Linked DNA regions of Homo sapiens: all the other regions are linked to region 3. Evidence: promoter capture Hi-C in 16 types of primary human blood cells and fetal thymus (Javierre and others, 2016). All regions are on one chromosome and are shown on one strand. The core of a region is centred on a gene start or on the middle of the fragment in contact, and the rest is flanking DNA. Distances in the headings are between cores, read along the strand shown.

What was found. The method cuts DNA at HindIII sites, captures the fragments that hold promoters and counts their contacts. A CHiCAGO score of 5 or more calls a contact.
Region 1: a contact is called between a fragment that was not itself captured here and the fragment with the promoter of MED27 in region 3, in 2 of 17 cell types (total B cells and naive CD8 T cells). The highest score is 5.7, in total B cells.
Region 2: a fragment that was not itself captured here is called in contact with the fragment with the promoter of MED27 in region 3 in 1 of 17 cell types (non-activated CD4 T cells); the score reaches 5.2 in non-activated CD4 T cells.
Region 4: a fragment that was not itself captured here is called in contact with the fragment with the promoter of MED27 in region 3 in 1 of 17 cell types (activated CD4 T cells); the score reaches 5.0 in activated CD4 T cells.

The regions. Positions count from the first base shown.
Region 1 is chr9:132,673,754-132,676,453 of GRCh38, forward strand. All of the region lies in intron 1 of GTF3C4 (general transcription factor IIIC subunit 4), which reads left to right. Among named protein-coding and RNA genes, the nearest start is that of GTF3C4, 4.6 kb to the left of the region's middle. The HindIII fragment of the contact is 1,193 bases long and covers 755-1,947 here.
Region 2 is chr9:131,118,226-131,120,925 of GRCh38, forward strand. AIF1L (allograft inflammatory factor 1 like) reads left to right here. Exons shown (of 6, transcript NM_031426.4): 6 at 2,010-2,700. The coding sequence ends at 2,097. Among named protein-coding and RNA genes, the nearest start is that of NUP214, 6.0 kb to the right of the region's middle. The HindIII fragment of the contact is 3,545 bases long and covers 1-2,700 here.
Region 3 is chr9:132,078,533-132,081,232 of GRCh38, forward strand. MED27 (mediator complex subunit 27) reads right to left here and starts at 1,335. Exons shown (of 8, transcript NM_004269.4): 1 at 1,110-1,335. The coding sequence starts at 1,312. RefSeq lists an enhancer at 1,232-1,511. The HindIII fragment of the contact is 6,112 bases long and covers 1-2,700 here.
Region 4 is chr9:132,882,888-132,885,587 of GRCh38, forward strand. SPACA9 (sperm acrosome associated 9) reads left to right here. Exons shown (of 4, transcript NM_001316897.2): 2 at 1,024-1,204. The coding sequence starts at 1,061. Among named protein-coding and RNA genes, the nearest start is that of SPACA9, 5.3 kb to the left of the region's middle. The HindIII fragment of the contact is 3,076 bases long and covers 1-2,700 here.

The DNA of each region.
Region 1 (2,700 bases), core at 101-2,600, 600 kb after region 3:
GTTATTTAGATTATGAATTTGCAGGAAAATCTGCAGTTATGTAATAGTTCAGACATTAATTATCAGCTGTTTTATAAGATTGTATGATATAAAGGTGGACAGTATAAATCTGAAAAGCAATGAAATAGTGATTTAAGAATGTCAGAATTGTTTTTCCCATTGGACTACTGATTTAGTGACTCATCTAGTGAGACATTTGTGTATAGTTCCAAATTCTGATAATATTTGTGTACCGAATTGTATTGTGCATCAATTGTTAGGAGCCTTAGAAAGTATTAACTTCATCTGCTACATTAAGTTAAATAACTGTTGCCTGTCTTTGGACTCTATTACCTGTCCTCAAGAAGCTTACTGTCTAAAAGCTTCAAGTGAATTTTTGTCAGGTGCTTACAAAATGCCTAACAGTTAGTATTAAAAGTATTTGCCATTAAAAGTGATGGTGAAAACCGCAATTACTTTTGCACCAACCTAATAGTGGTCAACTGGAAACTGGATGGTGTACAATTAAATGATTGGCTGCGGGCAGGCCTCTGGGAGCTGGACTTTTTAAGTATACTCCTTGGGCATCTGAATACTTGATTTGTTAACAGTTTTGTGATAGGGAGAGTTGGAGGGAGGTTCAGTAGTCTAGTTGAAACATATGTCAGAAATTGCTACACAAAACCCTAAGACTTTTTCCTACCAGTCAAGATCTGTACTGCTCTCCATCCTGTCAAGAATTCTTCCCACAATGAGTAGGACCAAGGGTTGCTTAAGCTTCCTTTATTTCATCCCGTGCTGCTGCTTTGGGTTACCAATCCTGTGAGTTTACTTCTACAGTAGCTTTTATTTGTAGCAAATTTAACCTATTCTAAGGAGTATTGCTTAGTTCACAGTATTAAAGGATTTGATGAACAATTTTATATCTACCTTTCATTTGGTACACAACTTTATGTCTACCTTGCATTTTTGCATACTTTTATTAGCATTAAATATCTTATTAACATTTACTTAAGGCTGAGTGCTGTGGCTCACACCTGTAATCCCAACACTTTGGAAGGCCAAGGCCGGAGGATCGCTTGAGCCCAGGAGTTAAAGACCAGCCTGGGCAACAGAGAGAGACCGCATCTCTACAAAAAATTTTAAAAATTAGCCAGGCATGGTGGTGTGCACCTGTGGTCCTAGCTACTCAGGAGGCTGAGGTGAAAGGATCACTTGACCCCGGGAGGTTGAGGCGGCAGTGAGCTGTAGTCACGCCAGCTGCACTGCAGCCAGGGTGACAGAGAGGAATCTCAAAAGTTTTTTTTTTAACTTAGTCCTCAGAGTATATTAACAATTATCATAGGTAACTTTATTGAGCGCTTAATATATGCTTTGATATATTGACTTATTTAACCTTCCTAACTTTCTGGGACATGTATTAGTCTCATTTATAAATGAGGAAATTAAGGTCAGAAGGTTTAAGCAATTTGCGCACACAGAGCTGGTATGTAGCAGAGCCAGCATTTGAACCCAGGTAGTCTGGCGTCATAGCACAGATTTTCAGTTATTATGTTGTGCTTCATTATGTCATCTCACAAATTTCATCTGCCTGTAGAAAGCACCGGGCTTTGATTAGCATTGTTTTATTTCCAAGCCAGCCACCTACACCTCATTTAATTGGCATTTTCAGTCTATGATTCTCCAGCAAGTTTCATAGTGTATCCAAGAGACTACTTTAAAATGCCTTCCTAAAATCAAGATACACTGCCTAAAACACCATTCCCAAAGTATTCCACATACTTTTGGATAATAAAGGGTAATAACTGCCTCCCTCACCTCCAAAAAAAAGGCTCTGTTGTTTAAAAAGGCAAAAAAGTTTGGCTTCCTGTGGCTCAGTAGGTCTTTATAGTAGTTCCCTGGCCGAGGCATTTAGTGTCCTCGTGTCACTTTTCAAGGGAGAACGACATATAAATATAGTATTTCCAAAGCTTGTTTGGCCATAGAACTATTTTTCAAGGGACAATTAAAGGGAGTAGTGTACTGTGAAACACACTGTAGGAAAAGTTAGTTCTCTATTTTGTGGACAATTTTCTATTTACATTTCATTTTATTTGCTTATCTATTATGTCATCTAGCAATTTTAGCAGAAAAGAGAATAAGAATAGACTATTCCAGTTACCCTTTTTTTTTTTTTTTTTTTTTGAGATGGAGTTTTGCTCTGTTGCCCAGGCTGGAGTGCAGTGGTGCCATCTTGGCTCACTGCAGGCTCCACCTCCCGGGTTCATGCCATTCTCCTTCCTCAGCCTCCTGAGTCGCTGGGACTACAGGCACCCACCACCATGCCCGGCTAATTTTTTTGTATTTTTAGTAGAGACGGAGTTTCACCGTGTTAGCCAGGATGGTCTCGATCTCCTGACCTCATGATCCGCCCACCTCAGCCTCCCAAAGTGCTGGGATTACAGGCGTGAGCCACCACGCCCAGCCATCCTTTGCTTGTTTCTAATCATCACTCCTGTCTGCACAAACTATTCATTTGTTAATACATTGAGGAATTTTCTGTTAGGCTTAATGGTCTGTAGTTTTTGTTATTTATGTACCATTTGGGGGATTTTTTTTTTTTTTTTTGCAAAGCCTGGCTCCATCACCCAGGCTGGAGTGCAGTGGCGCAATCTCGGCTCACTTCAACCTCTGCCTCCCAGATTCAAGCAGTTCTCCTGCCTCAGCCTCCCAAGTAGCTGG
Region 2 (2,700 bases), core at 83-2,582, 960 kb before region 3:
GAGATTACAGGCATGCACCACTATGCTTGGCTAATTTTTGTATTTTTAGAAGAGACGGGGTTTTGCCATGTTGGCCAGGCTAGTCTCAAACTCCTGACCTCAGGTAATCTGCCCTCCTCAGCCTCCCAAAATGTTAGGATTATAGGCGTGAGCCACCACACCCGGCCCAAATGGTCATATTAATATGTACCCTGTAGGGGAAATTAGCTTGTAGCAGAGTCAGGCAGAATCAGTACTCAGTAAGTGGCAACTGTGATGATGATGATGGTGGTGATGGTGATAATGGTGATAAATCTGTTGAAACTTTCCGAGCCTTAGTTTTCCTTTTTTTTTTTTTTCTTTTTGAGATCTCGCTCTGTCACCCAGGCTGGAGTGCAGTGACATGATCTCAGCTCACTGCAACCTCCGCCTCCTGAGCTCAAGTGATTCTCCTGCCTCAGCCTCCCGAGTAGCCAGGATTACAGGTGTGCGCCACCACACCCAACTAATTTTTGTATTTTTAGTAGAAATGGGGTTTCGCCATGTTGGCCAGGTTGGTCTCAAACTCCTGACTTCCAAGAGATCAGACCCCCTCGGCCTCCCAAAGTGCTAGGATTACAGGCGTGAGCCACCATGCCTGGCAGTTTCCCCATTTGTAAAGCACCTCCACTACCCCCACAGGCTTGTAAGCATAAAATAGAGTCAAAAATTGGCCCCAAAGGGAGGCAGGGTTTGCATCTTGATGCTATTACTTGCTACCAAAATGACCCTGGGCAAGTTACCTTAGGTCTGCGAGTCTCAGTTTCTTCATCTATAAAATAGGGGTGATAATCATGTCTTCCGTGATGTCCTGAGGGCTAGTGAAATGACACTTATGAAGATTTCAGCCTTGTGTGGCTGATGGCAAACACCTACTACGTGGTAGCACATTGTGGGTGCTGCCCCATTGAAGAGCGTTACAGCATTGCCCCAGGGCAGTCTCATTGTCATTTGTCACAGCTGAAAATAACACTCTGCCAGGTGCCCTGGCTCACGCCTTTAATCCCAGCGCTTCGGGAGGCTGAGGCCGGTGGATCACCTGAGGTCAGGAGTTCGAGACTAGCCTGGTCAACATGGTGAAACCCCGTTTCTACTAAAAATACAAAAATTAGCTGGGTGTTGTGGCTCACGCCTGTAATCCTGGCTACTCGGGAGGCTGAGGCAGGAGAATCACTTGAGCCCAGGAGGCGGAGGTTGCAGTGAGCAGAGATCGTGACATTGCCCTCCAGCCTGGGCGGCAAGAACAAAACTCTGTCTCAAAAGAAAAAAAAAAAAAAAAAGAAAACAGAAAATAACACTTACTTGGCTTTTATGAAATAAGATTCACTTTTTTAAAGTACGAATGTAAAATATACCTGTCTCATTTTACAAAGGAGCTTGTTGAGGCCCAAGGAGACTGAGTACCTGGCCCATGAGCCCACGGTCCAATCTGGCCAGATCTTCTAGCACCCCACTTCCAGGGAGAAACGCCAAGGATCAGAGAGGTCAAGTGTCTTGCTTGAGCCACCCGGCTGGGAAGTAGCAGGGCTGGCATTTGAATCTAGGCAGTTGCCCTAGAGGTTATACGCTGAGCCCCTACCCTCTACTCCCCAGACACCACTCTCAGAGCAGTGGGCAGGTTTTTGAAGATCTTTGCGCAGAGGCGTGGCCCAGCCTGGCTCAGCCTCCTCCAGGCAGTGTGGTTAAGGGAAGGGTATGGCCTGGAAGTCAGAAGCCTGGAGTCGTACCCAGCCTCTGCCCTGGACCGCCTGTGTGGTTCTGAGGAGTCATATCACCACTTTGCGCCTCCATTTTCTCCTCTGTAAAATGGGACTAGCAGCCCCTTCCTTGGAGCTGCTGTCTTGGGCTTCTGCAAGGATCCCACTGGAGAACAGATTTAAATTCTGTTGAGGACCCTGCTGACATGAGGCTGGGATGATCTTTCCCTGGATGAGGGAAGGATCCTAATCTTGTTTTTCTTTCTTTTTTTCTTTTCTCCATCTCCAAACCAGAGTCATGATGTTTGAAGGAAAAGCCAACGAGAGCAGCCCCAAGCCAGTTGGCCCCCCTCCAGAGAGAGACATTGCTAGCCTGCCCTGAGGACCCCGCCTGGACTCCCCAGCCTTCCCACCCCATACCTCCCTCCCGATCTTGCTGCCCTTCTTGACACACTGTGATCTCTCTCTCTCTCATTTGTTTGGTCATTGAGGGTTTGTTTGTGTTTTCATCAATGTCTTTGTAAAGCACAAATTATCTGCCTTAAAGGGGCTCTGGGTCGGGGAATCCTGAGCCTTGGGTCCCCTCCCTCTCTTCTTCCCTCCTTCCCCGCTCCCTGTGCAGAAGGGCTGACATCAAACCAAAAACTAGAGGGGGCAGGGCCAGGGCAGGGAGGCTTCCAGCCTGTGTTCCCCTCACTTGGAGGAACCAGCACTCTCCATCCTTTCAGAAAGTCTCCAAGCCAAGTTCAGGCTCACTGACCTGGCTCTGACGAGGACCCCAGGCCACTCTGAGAAGACCTTGGAGTAGGGACAAGGCTGCAGGGCCTCTTTCGGGTTTCCTTGGACAGTGCCATGGCTCCAGTGCTCTGGTGTCACCCAGGACACAGCCACTCGGGGCCCCGCTGCCCCAGCTGATCCCCACTCATTCCACACCTCTTCTCATCCTCAGTGATGTGAAGGTGGGAAGGAAAGGAGCTTGGCATTG
Region 3 (2,700 bases), core at 85-2,584:
GATGTGGGCGTTGAGGAGGGCTGTGTGATTTACGGCAACTACTTAGGGGGAAAACAAAAAGGCACCCATCATTTGGCCACCTCCTCCTCCTCCTCCTCCATCCTACCTCCTCTTTCCATCTGGTTACTAAGGAGACCAAGTTGAAAAAACAAAAATCCAACCAGTCCAGAAATCAAAGGATGACTAGCTCACCAAATGCTTTCCCCTACTCAGGTCAGTTCTGAGAAGTAAAAGGCAAAAATCCTGAAATTCTAACCTTCCTGGGAAGGACTGACTCTCTTATAAAACAGAAGGCAAGTTCAGGACCTAAGCAATCAAGAAGTGCCTACTATGTGCCAGGCCCTTTACAAACATCCTCTCATTTAATTCTTACAACACTTAAAAAGTGTAAGTGAAGAAGGTACTTTGTAAGGAAGAGGAGGAAAAGTGGAATCCTTAACCCTAAAAGACTACAAATTAAGAAGCAGGGGCGTTAAGCATAAGTAATTAAACTGGTTAAGAGATTAGAGAGTAGGTCTCTACTGCGGAAGGAACTCCCACAGGAGTGGGAGTGAGGAAACTGATCAGGTGGTTTGGGAGCGGTTAGGGGAAAAGGTGAAGACAGCTCAAGGCCTGGCCGGTCCGTCGTGGTTGCGGGTGGGTGGTGGTGGAACTGATGAAGTCCAAGTTCAGGGCCGGGGAATTGGGGCTAATCAGATCGGGTGCACTTGGGTTTGGAGCCGACTGACCAGGTCCTGTCTGTACTATTACTACATTCGGATCAGACGTGATGGGGCACAGAGGGCCTACAGGTGAGAAACCTGCCAAGCTCAGAGAAGTGGAAGTTCATGGGAAAAGCATGCCTCCTTGTTAGGAATGGAACCGCCACAGAAGAGGTCGAGGATGGCGGAAGACAAACAGGACCAGGAGGCCAGGAGAAGCAAGACGAGAAAGCGGGGATGGTGTTAAGATGTCCCTGAGGGACAGGCAGAGGCTTGGAGAACAAGAAGAGAAAGAACAGGGATCAAGGGAAACGGAGAACAGCCCCTGCCTGGGAAGACTCGAGCGACGTAGGGGCAGGGTCGGAGCGGGGCCGGTCCCCGACCCCGGCCCCTTCAGCCGGTACCTACTTGAGGTCCCGGTTGACCGAATGTAAGTTGTCCTGGAAGTGCGCAATAAAGGCCTTCTCCCGGCCCTCCAGCGTCTCCTTGTTCCGCATCCCATCCTTCAGGCAGTCGAACACCCTGCTCACGCTGGAGCGCAGCGCCTGGATGGCACTAATGGCCTGGGAAAAGGCCTCCAGGTTCACACTGACATTTATCACGTCCGCCATGTTGCCGCCGCCACAGCAGCTCTCCAAAGCCGGCTTCGCAAGCAAAAAAGCCGCGCTCGCTGATGACGTATCTCCGAAGACCTCTGGGAAATGCAGTTCGCGCGGGGCTACCCAGAAAGCACTTTCGAAAAAGGGTTTCCCCTTGAGCTAAACTAATGCATGGGCAGGAAAGTGATTTTTCTCAACTTGGGGAAGTCAGGTTGCACTCCCGGTTTGCTTAATGGTGACAAAGAAATACAGAAAGTTCCCGCATTTCCCCAAACTTGCACTCTGGGGAATCATAGGGAAAAGAATTGCTCAGAGCAATAGTGTAAAAAGGAAAGGAACATAGCCCATTCAATAAAATGAGTCCATATTCATAAATAAAGCGGGGAGAAGGAAAGTTTCTTCTTTCCAATAGAATGCCAGCTCATAAATGCAGAAAGAGTGATGGAATTAGAAAATTGCCATTTGACAGCCATTAGAATAATTGATTCAGATAGAAATCGATGGATGCTAAAACTAGTGGGTGAAAGTGTCAGAAAAATAACAGGCTTTTTAGGTAATCTCAAAGTATCGTCCCCCAAGATGCTTATTAATTAAGAAGAGGAAAATAATGATCCAGAGATTCCACTTCTGGGCATATACCCAAAAGAAGCGAAAGCAGGGACTCAATACCTGTACACATGTTCATAACAGCATTATTCACCAAATAGCCAAAAGGCAGGGGAAACCCAAGTGTCCATAAACTGATGAATAAACAAAGTGTGATACTGGCATACAATGAAAAATTCTTCAGGCTTAAGCAAGAAAATTCTGACATATGCTACCTGGAGGAAACTTGAAGACATTATGCTAAGTGAAATAAGCCAGTCACAAAAAAACAAAATTCTGTGTGACTCCACTTATATGAGGTGTTTAGGGTAGTCAAAATGTTAGAGACAGAAAGTAGAATGGTGGCTGGTTTACAGTGAACACACACCTCTGAAAATAACATACATAGCATAGAGGTTGTGGAAGAAAGAGAAGGTTTGGGATTTAAATAAAACCAACAAAATGTTGGCCAAATCTGGCTTTATGGAAAAATTCAATGTCTCTTTGTCCTGTTGGCTATAGACAGGTTTCTGAAAATTTATTATCTTTTTACTAAAGGGAACCTGCCCAAGTCCTCATGTTCTTTCCTTAGAGGAGCTGGGGTTGCATAGCTTGGAGCAGAGAAGAGGAGAGCAGGAGGCAGATCATGATTGTGACCTTCAACTCACCTTCATGTCAACCCAAGACAAGAGTCCTCCTTGGTTAACTAGTGGCAATAACAATAACCAGTTGTAGGAAGGCTGTAGAGAGGAAGATTTCAGCATAATATTGCAAAGGGCCATATTTAAGTCTGTACTTAAAGAGTACAGACTTGG
Region 4 (2,700 bases), core at 59-2,558, 800 kb after region 3:
TTGGGCACAAATTTGCTGTGACACCCTGGGCAAAACCTTTCCCTCTGAGCCTCACTTTCCCCATAGCAGCTCAAGGGAGCTGGTTTTCTCAGTCCCTTCCAGCTCTAACATGAATAGAAATCTGTGGTCTGGAGCATTTTGCACGCGCTCAGCAAAACTGTGATGTCATGGAGCACACACCCACAGACTTTTCTGCTCACAGGAGGATTGTAGATGCTCTGTGGAGCACCTAAATCACAGCAGGGACAGTCTGTGAGGCGCCAAGAGAGAGTCCTCCCCACAGCCTCCATGTTACTGATCATGGCATTCCAGCAATTAACAGGGTCAGGGGGCAGTCCACTAGCCACCAGCCCTGCCCTGAGAATGCGCAAACCTGAGACCAAGGCTCCTGCCCCCAGCCCAGAGCAGGCAGACTTACATCTTCTCAAACTAGACAGTCTAGTATTGATTCTTCTCCCCGCTTAATCCATGGGAAGGAATTCCCAGACTTTCCCACCAGTTGCAGAGCAGCTTTACAATAATTTGATCCAAACTGATCATCTCCTGGTTTTATATCCTGTGGCATATCCCTTGATCCCAGGTTTTGCTGACACCACAGCAAGGGATTGGAGGGCGTGTGTGTACACGCGTGCGTGTGTGTGTGTATGCATGTACCTGTATGTGTGTGCACATGCATGTGTGTGCGTGTGTGTGTGCGCGCGTGTGTGTAGATACCCACATCTGGAGAAACAGAACCAGAGAAACTCTGTCCACAGCTGAGGGAAGAAGTCACATTTCCTGGCAAAGAATGTGTTCATGGAGGGTAAATTTCGAGGTCAGGCTCAGCTCTGTCATGGACAGCCTGGGGGCTCTGGACAAGTGTGCAGCCTCCCAGGGCCTCGCTTTCTTCTGTGGGGAGGCACTCACAAGGCGCTCCAGTGAGAGGGGCCATGGGTATCCCTCTCCCCTGACAGTCCTTCCCTCCGGAGCTGGATCCGAGCATTGGGTCCCAGGACCTCATCACTATCCTCTGTCTCCCCATAGATTCCTCTTCTCCTGTAAATGACCACAGAGGAAGACAATGAATGAGGTGAAAGAATCCCTTCGCAGCATCGAGCAGAAGTACAAGCTCTTCCAGCAGCAGCAGCTCACCTTCACCGCCGCTCTGGAGCACTGCAGGGAGAACGCCCACGACAAGATCCGGCCCATCTCCAGCATTGGACAGGTGGGGCTCCCGACCCCCACCCCGGCCGAGGGGCAACAAGCCCAGTCCCCTCTCACAAAAGATGAAACCACTGGGGCCCAGAGAGGGGAAGGACGTTTGCGCCAGAATTAGGACCCGGACCCAGAACCTAAATGATGTAATGAGTCCTTCATTCGTTTCTCTACCAAATATGTAAGTGAATAACAACAAGTGAATAAAGAGGCAGGTTTAAAACTCAGCCGGCCAGGGCTTAAGTCCTAGCTCTACCATGTGCCACTGCTGTGATCTCAGGCCAATGACTTCACCTTTCTGTGCCTCAGTGTCCTCATCTGTGACGCAGGTTCAGTGGTCACCCATAGAAAACCAGGGATTTACTGGTGACCAGAGGGATCCTGTCCTTCCCATCAGATTCCACTGGGGGTTGAGGAACTGTGGGATGCCAAGCACACCGCCAGGTGCTTTCGCAGATGTTTTTATTTAACCTGCATCTCCTCCAGGGTTAGCTGCTGTCCAGGTTTGCTGTGCAGGACTTGGAGGCCTCAAGACCAAATGATCCTTCCAGGATGTTAGGGGCTGGAGCTGCAGTGCAGTTAGGAACACACACAGGCCGGCCCTTCACAGCTTGGAGGGAGTCAGCTTGTGGAAGGGTAACTGCCCCAAGATGGGTGGGAACAGGCGCAGGGCTCAGAACTGCAGAGGAGAAACAGGCTCGGGAGGAACAAGCAACCCTTGCTGGCAGCATCCTTTAAAAACATTTTTTTCTGGCCAGGCGTGGTGGCTCATGCCTGTAATCCCAGCACTTTGGGAGGCCGAGGCAGGTGGATCATGAGGTCAGGAGTTTGAGACCAGCCTGACCAACATGGTGAAACCCTGTCTCTACTAAAAATACAAAAATAGCTGGGCGTGGTGGTGCGCATCTGTAATCCCAGCTACTCGGGAGGCTGAGGCAGGAGAATTGCTTGAATCTGGGAGGTGGAGGTTGCAGTGAGCCGATATTGCGCCACTGTACTCCAGCCTGGGCGACAGAGTGAGACTCCGTCTCAAAAACAAAACAAAACAAAACAAAAACAAAAACAAAAAAATGAAAAAAAACACTTTTTTTTTCTAATTTTGGTAAAATGTTTCCTCAATTTTTTAACTCAAAAAAATGTTAAATATAGAGGCCAGACACAGCGGCTCATGCCGGTAATCCCAGCACTTTGAGAGGCCGAGGTGAGTGGATCACCTGAGGCCAGGAGTGGAGACCAGCCTGGCCAACATGGTGAAACCCCATCTTTACTAAAAATCCCAAAATTAGCCAGTTGTGGTGGTACGCGCCTGTAGTCCCAGTGACTCGGGAGGCTGAGGCATGAGAATCACATGAACCCTGGAGGCAGAAGCTGCAGTGAGCCGAGATCGCACCACTGCACTCCAGCCTGGGTGACACAGCAAGACCCTGTCTCAAAAAAAAAAAAAAAAAAAAAAAGTTAAATGTACAGAAAAGGAGCACCCATATAACCCTCACCCAGATTCACCGA